Regions from separate parts of the Homo sapiens genome. Here regions 1 and 2 are each linked to region 3. Evidence: promoter capture Hi-C in 16 types of primary human blood cells and fetal thymus (Javierre and others, 2016). All regions are on one chromosome and are shown on one strand. The core of a region is centred on a gene start or on the middle of the fragment in contact, and the rest is flanking DNA. Distances in the headings are between cores, read along the strand shown. Region 1 overlaps LOC101927066 (a long non-coding RNA gene). Region 2 has its middle 88 kb from the start of MTDH. Region 3 holds the start of CPQ (carboxypeptidase Q).

Region 1 (2,700 bases), core at 142-2,641, 610 kb before region 3:
GCCCTCAGAGGTGTCCTGTCATGGGTCTTTGTACCCCTGCCACTGTTAGCTGTTGCATTTGGGCTACCCGGAAAGGAAAGAGATGCCCTTGGGCAAAGCAGCTGTCTATGGCAAGCACACTCTGAAGGAGCTGACAGCTGGAGGCAAGTCCTTCCCTCCAGAAAGGGCATTTGGGCAGTGCATCTCCTGTCCTACCACTTTCTTCATCTGCAAAATGGGGATCATGATAGTACCAGCTTGCAGGGTTAAAGTAAGGTAGTGGGTGCAGGTGTCTTCCATAAACAACAGTTGTCTTTAAGGGCACTGTGGGTACTCTGTCTACCAGGCAGCTCTGGCTGTGGGAGCCCCTCCCAATAGAGCTGCCACCAGCCCTTTCTGATAGGACTAACTCCCCAGGAATGTCAGGGTGGTGACTCCGGAGCACTTACAATTGGACACTGTGAAGATGATCATTGTGTTGCATCACCACTGCCCTTCATTCAGTTGTTTCAGATTAAATTCATCATAACAAGAGGTCTCTGATCAAAAACATTGAACTTAAATACGGGGGGAACTCTGGAAAAAAAGGAATGCTGAAAGAAGCTGAGTTTCCTTTCATTCTGAGGACTCTGAATACATTTGAGACTTGCATCTTACTCTTCTAAAGCCATGCAGCCCAAGCTTTCTATTCCATGTTAGTCAGGATGTAGGAGTCATTTCAGACCAAGTCAGGTTGGGGTAGATGATTAGAATGATGCTTGTAGAGATTATCACAATAATGGCCCCCAATGAATCATACTTTCTGATACCATGCCCTTGTGTAGTGTTCTTCCACACTGACTCTGGGCCTAGCCATGTGTCCTGTTTTGGTCCATGTGACATCAGCTAACATAACCCAAGCAGAGACTTGGTAAGTGCTTGCTCACAGGGATTTGCTTGAAGCTCCAACTGGCCTTCTTGAGGATGAGAGACCAGGTGAAAGAGAGGACCTGCCCTCCCAGCCAATTCTCCTGCTGAATGGAGCCTAGGTGAAGCCAGCAGAGCCTCCCAGCTGTCCTACAGAGTCACGAGAAATAATAAATTGCTGTTATGATGATTTTTAAAATTGAGGTGAAATACACCATAACAGAAAATTCACTATTTTAAGGTATGCAATTCATGGCATTTAGTATCTTTATAATGTTGTGCAACCACCACCTCTTTCTAGTTCTAAAACGTTTTCATCACTCCAAAAGCAAACCCTGTATCCAGTAAGCAGTCACTTCTCATTCCCTGCCCCCTCTAACTCCTGGCAACCACCCATCTGCTTCCTGTCTCTATGGAGACACTTTTGTGACTGGCTTCCTTCACTTAGCATAATGTCTTCAGTGTTCATCCATGTTGTAGCATATATCGCTACTTCATTTCTTTTTGCACTCAAATACATGTATGCAATGTTCATAGAAGCACTATTCACTATAGCCAAAAGGTGAAAACAATCTAAATGTCCATTAACTGATGAACAGATAAGCAAAATGTGTTGTACCCATACAATTAAATATTATTGAGTGATAAATTGCTGTTATTTTAAGCCATCAGGTTTTGGGCTGGTTTGTTAACTGTAGTAATAGATAACAGAGAATTTTTAAGGTGGTTGGAGTAATAACAAGAGCTATCACATCTTACACTGCATGCAATGTACTATGTGAAGCACTTTGTGTGAATTCTGCTTTAATCCTCACAAGAACCCTGTGGTTTAGGTACTAATATTGACCCCAGTTCACAAATGGGAAAACTGAGAAATTAAATATTTGCCCAAGTTAACCCAGACAGTTCAATTCCAGAGCTCATGCCTTATTCACTCGCTGTACTACAATCCAGCCATAAATGAAAGGCCTACTCTGGAAGATCTAACTAAGGACATGAGTGTGTAGCTTTGCTGTGAAAGAGACACCATTCTCAGCTTTTTTATATAGTGAATATCACTGGTAGAAATGATCAACAGAATTTAAAGCCTTTAGTAGTTAAAATCTAATCTGTGCAGTCTGACTTGGGAATATTGAACTTTGTAGAACAATGTCTATATAGTAAGTTTTCAAGGGCAAAAGTTACAACCATAATATTTGATATAAATAAACCAATTGAGTAATGCATCAAAGCTTTATATAAAACTGACACAGGAAAAAATTAATCCCAATCAAATAACTTCTGTGAAATAAAATATGAATGAAAATGGGAAAAATTAAAGAGGATTTAACTAGGCTATTTTAAGAAGGTTGATCAAGGAGTCAAATGGACTTAATGGAGTTTTTTCCAGAAAATCCTTTCAGTACAAAAATGTATTCATTATGACATAATTTTGGTTTTAATGGTATTATTCTTAGGAGTCAAAATATCCTTAGGAGAGAACATCTTTCTGAGTCAAACATCTTTTATCTTGCATAAAGATTCTTTGGAGGGTGTAAAGTGTTATCAGAAGGTGAGTATGGGGTCACTCTGGGATGCCAAGACAGATTTGTAAGATTCCAGACTCTTTGGAGAATAAGTGCATTGGTATTTGGAGTCAGACCACGAGATGCTGGGCTTGACTTATGATGCAAGGTAAGGAGGTGAAGGCTGTCCTGTGGGGGTCAGGAATTCATCCCAGTGTAGGGGAGAGTTAGGTCCTGGTGTCCCTTTTGAGACACATGTTCTATGGCAGGGGGTAAAATGGCACATGGAGAAGCCACAAGAGTAATCTTG
Region 2 (2,700 bases), core at 106-2,605, 910 kb before region 3:
TGTGTCCGGGAGGCTAGGGCAGCGCAGGAGCCAATTGCCGGGGAGGAGGGGTGGCTCGCGCATGTCCGGCTGCAGGTGCCGAGCCCTGCCCTGCGGAGGCGGCTGAGGCCCGGCGAGAATTCAAGCGCGGCGCGGGCGGGCGGGCAGTACTGGGGGACCTGGCGCACCCTCTGCAGCTGCTGGCCCGGGTGCTAAGCCCCTTACTGCCCGCGGCCAGCAGCGCTGGCGGGCCGCTGTGAGTGTGGGGCCTGCGGATCCCGCGCCCACCCGGAACTCGCGCTGGCCCGCTAGCGCCCTGCGCAGCTCCGGTTCCCGCCCACTCCTCTCCCTCTACACCGGCCTGCAAGCAGAGGGAGCTGGCTCCGGCCTCAGCCTGCCCAGAGAGGGGCTCCTACAGTGCAGCGGCGGGCTGAAGGGCTCCTCAAGCGCGGCCAGAGTGGACGCCGAGGCCAAGGAGGCGCCCAGAGCGAGCGAGGGCTGCTAGCATGTTGTCACCTCTCAGTGGCATGATCTCCATTCACTGCAACCTCCACCTCTCGGGTTCAAGCGATTCTCCTGCCTCAGCCTCATGTAGCTGGGATTACAGGCACGAGCCACCACACCTGGCTAATTTGTTTTGAATTTTTAGTAGAGAGGGGGTTTCACCATGTTGGCCAGGCCAGTCTTCAACTCCTGGACTCAAGTAATCCACCTGCCTCAGCCTTCCAAAATGCTGGGATTACAGGCGTGAGCCATCACGTCCTGCCCTGACCTCTGCTTTCAGCCACAAACTTAGGTAAAAGAAAAGTAGCTTTTGCTCATAAAGTGATTGGAGACAGCCTGTTGTCCAACAGTGTCTCCCTTATTGGACCATGACTTTTCCCAGGCAGGGGCCATGTCTTATTTGTGTGTATATTTCCATCACCCAGCACAGCACTTGGCACGTGATACAGGTTCAGTATATATTTTCAAACAAATAAATTGAAGTGAAGAATTGAGTCAAGGAGACAAGACCTTTGAAGGCCAAAAGATCGAAGTTTGTGGTAATGAGACATCGAGCTCTGGTTTGAACTAAAATCCTTTGAAGTGAAAAACCTCTTGAGTGGTTGTGAAACTTGAACTTACCATAAATATCTCTTCGTATTTTTTGAGCCGATTAATCCATGGCTCCCATAAAATCTTCTGCACATTAAACAACAGGGTAAGAGCACCACGCCTTCCTCTGCCTCCACCGCCAACTTGGCGGAGACTAGACCCAAGGATGCAGGAGCCGTTCCTCTCCGTCTGAGCCTGCTGGGCTGAATGGGCATGAAGAAAGTTGGAGAACAGAACGTGCAAACCGGGTGAGTTGAAGTGGGTTCCTGCTCGCTGGAACTGGAGAGAAGTGTCATTTCCAGCAGGAGGGCTGCTTCCAGTACCTGGGGCTACAGAGAGGGACTGGGCCACATCTCTGATTAAGTTTCTCTTCTTTCCTTTCTGGGAGATGGATGTAAACAGTGACTGGTTTCTTTGGACAGAGGCTACCTGTGCTATTGAAGGGACAAAATCCACATGCCCTACATGCAAACTCACACTCCCATCTTTCCCTATTTATCTCGTAAGCTCACAGTTTGCTGGGCACGGTACAAGATGCAAATGAGGAATAATGAATGCTTATAGTGTGAAGGTGTTAGCTCCAGTTTTGCTCAATTCCCTGAGAATTTACATATTCTGGTCCACAATACCTTATCCAAAACCCTCAGGGCCATATACGTTTTGGAATTCAGATTATTTTGGGTTTCAGAAAGGCAAAACAGTGCACATGTTATATATTATGTAACACCCCCAGCACAGCCTGAGCAAGCACCTTTTCACCAAACACATTAATATTTGTGTAGAAAAACATGAATAGTCACACTCAGCAGGACCAATGACGACTGTTGGTGGTGTCATTCACCTCAGGTCAGGCTTTGCCACCAAATAAATTTTGATGCCAAATACATTAAAAGAAAAATAGGTTCTCAGAATTTTTTGGATTTCAGAAATGTGAGTAAGAGGTTCTGGGCCTGTATTCAGTCTTTCTTTCTTCTTTTTTTTTTTTGAAGACAGAGTCTTGTTCCGTCACCCAGGCTGGAGTGCAGTGGCACTCATAGCTCACTTCAACCTTGACCTCCTGGGCTCAAGTGGTCCTTTCACCTCAGCCTCCCAAAGTGCTGGGATTACAGGTGTGAGCCACTGCACCTGGTCAATGTTGTCTTTCTTAAAGTACTATCTCCCAATGATTCATTATTAATTTTCCTATAGAAGCACGTCTGTATAGTGCATCATGCTCTGTGTAGTAATCTCATTTTCAGACTTGAAACTGTTCCTCATGGAGTCATCAGTACACTGCCTTACACATAGTAGGGGCTTAGTAAGTGTTTGTTAACTAAACACACAACAGTCTTTCAAAATAAAAGTAATGATATATATTTATATTTGCAGTTGATGAAACCAAGGCCAGGAGGCTCCAGGATGTGGCACAGGGAAACAGGGTCTTTAACTTCTTTTTTTTTTTTTAGAGACGGAGTTTCACTCTTGTCGCCCAGGCTGGAGTGCAATGGCGCCATCTTGGCTCACTGCAACCTCTGCCTCCTGGGTTCAAGCGATTCTCTTGCCTCAGCCTCCCTAGTAGCTGGGATTACAGGCATGTGCCACCATGCCCGGCTAATTTTTGTATTATTAGTAGAGACTGGGTTTCAC
Region 3 (2,794 bases), core at 193-2,692:
AAAACCTAAAGAGATCAAGTGGCAAGTCCAAGGTCATCCAGCTCTTCTGGAACCTGGACCTGGCAAGTAAGAACGGCTGCAGTGACCAACTGTATTAAAGCTATGTGCTAAGCCTATTTGTTTACAAACAGATAAGCGTCTTTCTGGGCCTTATGTAGCCTTCTTCAGTCACCTGCAAATCAGCCAGCACCTGTCTCAGGAAAACAGACAAGATTCTTAACAACTCTGAATTCAAAAGAAAAGCCTGGTTTTACAAACAAGTCAGAGTCATATGGTTCTGCCTTCAGAGTCACCCTTATCTTTAAGAAATACATGAAATAATATTATAGTGACAATGATTCTTTAAACGTCCAAAGTAGAAGTGAACAAAACACAAGCAAGAAAAAACCTAGGCATATTTTGTTTTAAGCAAACACATATAGCCAAGTCCAACAAAAATGGAAATACCAGGGGGCGTTTCCAGAGACCATTTGAACAGCATAGAACTCTTTTTAAGTGGTCCCAATCAGAATGCCTCCATTTGCAAAAGTGCGACATTCACACAACTTTTTGGAAAGCTATCAAAAAACAGGAGTTGTAAGCCTGCGTCTCCACTGCTTCCACTTCATACATCTTTATTTTCACTCATGCACTGATTGATTCAGCTGTATCTCGTATGCACTCATTTATTCACTTACTCATTTGTTAATTCACTCAGTTCTACGGCATAGGTACTCATTCAATTACTTATTGAGTAGCTCTGAGTCCTAAGTCAGATGGGACTTTGCCCTCATGGAACTTCGATTCTAGGAGAGTCCAGTAGCAGAAACTAGACGCATCAAAAGCGAAAGTACACGGTAAAATGCGAAAGGAACCCCAAAAGAACTGCATAAGGCATATTGGAGGCTCAGGGGGACCAGGATTGTTTGCAGATGGGGGATGAAGGGGGCGGCTTGGGGCTGAGCCCTGGAGCTGAGGGGAAGTGAAACCGTGTTGGGAAGGACGGCTGAGGGCCGTGCTCGCTGCTGTCCCGCAGCACCCTCCACCACCCCCACGTCACAGCTTCCCCATTTCTAGGCTCGGTGACTCCACTGTCACCGAAGGGGCAGCCACAGGCTCCCAACCCGCCGCTCCCCAGCCAGGTCCTCCCGTCACGCCCCCGAATGAGCGATGCTGGAAGTCCGTCCCCCTCTGCCCCCGCCCCTGGCCTGCTCCAGCCTCAGCCCGCCCGACCCCCGCGGGTAGGAGCCAAGGCCTCGGCCCAGCCGCCCGCGGGCACTGCCAGTTCGGCTGCAAACACACCTGATAGGGCGGCTCTGACGGCGGCGACGGAGGCGGCTCCCAGGACTAAGCTCGCGGCCTAGCCTTACGGTGGCGGCGGCCACACCCCTGACTGGGCTGGGGCCCTCCGCGCCGCCCCGTGACTGCAGCCCTGCTTGCCGGCCAGGCCGCGGGGCCGAGAGGCGGGGCAAAGACCTGACTCGGGAAGCCGGGGCGGGCGCCGGGTTCGGGCTGGGGGCCACCTCCGGAACGCCTGGGGGGTTCTCACTCGCCCTCCAAGGGCGACCTCAGGGCCACAGATCGGCCGGAAGGCTTCTCAGCTTCTGGGCTGTGGCTCCTGTTAGAAAATTGAGTGTCGCCCTGGGTCCCGAGCCCCTAGGCCTGACTCCTTCGTGCAGGGGCGTCGCCTTCAGACTGGGTGGTGCGCAGGCCAGGGCCGCGTGCTTTTCAGAAGCGCAGCCTCAGGCGAGGCGGGCGGCAGGGGCCTGAGAAGGCTCATGGCTTGGCAGAAGGGTCCTGTGCTTCAGTGGGTGCCCGTGCAGGTGGAGAAGGACGGGGCTGCGAAGCTGAAAGGAAAACGTGAAAGGTTTTTGTGTGTCTCTGAGCCTGAGTAAAGGCCATGCTTTCTGAGCTGTCAAACGCCTCCCAAAGGGAAGAGATTATTAAACCGTTTTCCCACCCTGCCAGGTGTAGGATTGTTAGGCGGTGATGATGGAAGGCAGAGATGACCCGAACTGAGAGATCAGAAAAAGCGTTTTCTCTTTCGTTTGTGCCTGAATTATATGAGGGTGCCCAAGAAGAAAGGAGACTCATCTGATTACCCGGTGTGGCTTATCTCAACAAGTCACACGCATTCTGGTCACAGAGTATGTGCTCAGTGTTTTCAATGCTTTATGTTTTGATAAGTGCAAATTCCTTTGTTTAACGAAACTCTTATCAAATACAAACAGTTATCTTTGTGAAACACTGAGCAGTTCCAGTCTCTCCTCTTAACTAAAAAAACCAAACAGAACTTTTAATTAGAAAAGAAAAGAAAGAATAAGCACATGCCTACTGGGAAAAAAAAAATACCATAAAATGTGCAAAGTCCACTCACCTTCGGTTAACAGTCCCTCTAAACCTTACTAGTCCTGTTGCCCACTGAAACAAGTGTGAACTCTGAGGCATTGGAGGGTCCACATAAACATGGCCCTGGCCCACCTTTCCCGAATCATCTCTCGGATGCCATATCTAACCCCACTGAATTACTTTTTTCTCAAACTATCAAGGGTAAAAGACAAGTTTTTATTATTTCCAATCTGACATGGACCATTATTTCTGTAAAATACAAATCAAAACCTGCTAGCAAATAAGAAAAGAGACAAAAACTACAAGCCCAGTTTTTATTACAAGTGTACAATGAGTATGCCAAAAAGTATAAAATTAGTTTTTCAATTATTGGTTGTTGTTGTTGTTTTTATTTCTAAATGCTTACTCACAATTTCTATACTTACCTGTTCATGGAGCAGTAAAAAGCTGTTCACTGACTGGCGGT

Evidence for each region. The method cuts DNA at HindIII sites, captures the fragments that hold promoters and counts their contacts. A CHiCAGO score of 5 or more calls a contact.
Region 1: a fragment that was not itself captured here is called in contact with the fragment with the promoter of CPQ in region 3 in 1 of 17 cell types (M2 macrophages); the score reaches 5.1 in M2 macrophages.
Region 2: a contact is called between a fragment that was not itself captured here and the fragment with the promoter of CPQ in region 3, in 3 of 17 cell types (M2 macrophages, M1 macrophages and M0 macrophages). The highest score is 10.1, in M2 macrophages.

The regions. Positions count from the first base shown.
Region 1 is chr8:97,255,253-97,257,952 of GRCh38, reverse strand. All of the region lies in intron 2 of LOC101927066 (a long non-coding RNA gene), which reads left to right. Among named protein-coding and RNA genes, the nearest start is that of TSPYL5, 21 kb to the left of the region's middle. The HindIII fragment of the contact is 1,457 bases long and covers 663-2,119 here.
Region 2 is chr8:97,554,543-97,557,242 of GRCh38, reverse strand. No RefSeq gene overlaps it. Among named protein-coding and RNA genes, the nearest start is that of MTDH, 88 kb to the left of the region's middle. The HindIII fragment of the contact is 6,759 bases long and covers 1-2,700 here.
Region 3 is chr8:96,643,890-96,646,683 of GRCh38, reverse strand. CPQ (carboxypeptidase Q) reads right to left here and starts at 1,442. Exons shown (of 8, transcript NM_016134.4): 1 at 1,282-1,442. RefSeq lists a silencer at 1,018-1,567. The HindIII fragment of the contact is 6,363 bases long and covers 1-2,794 here.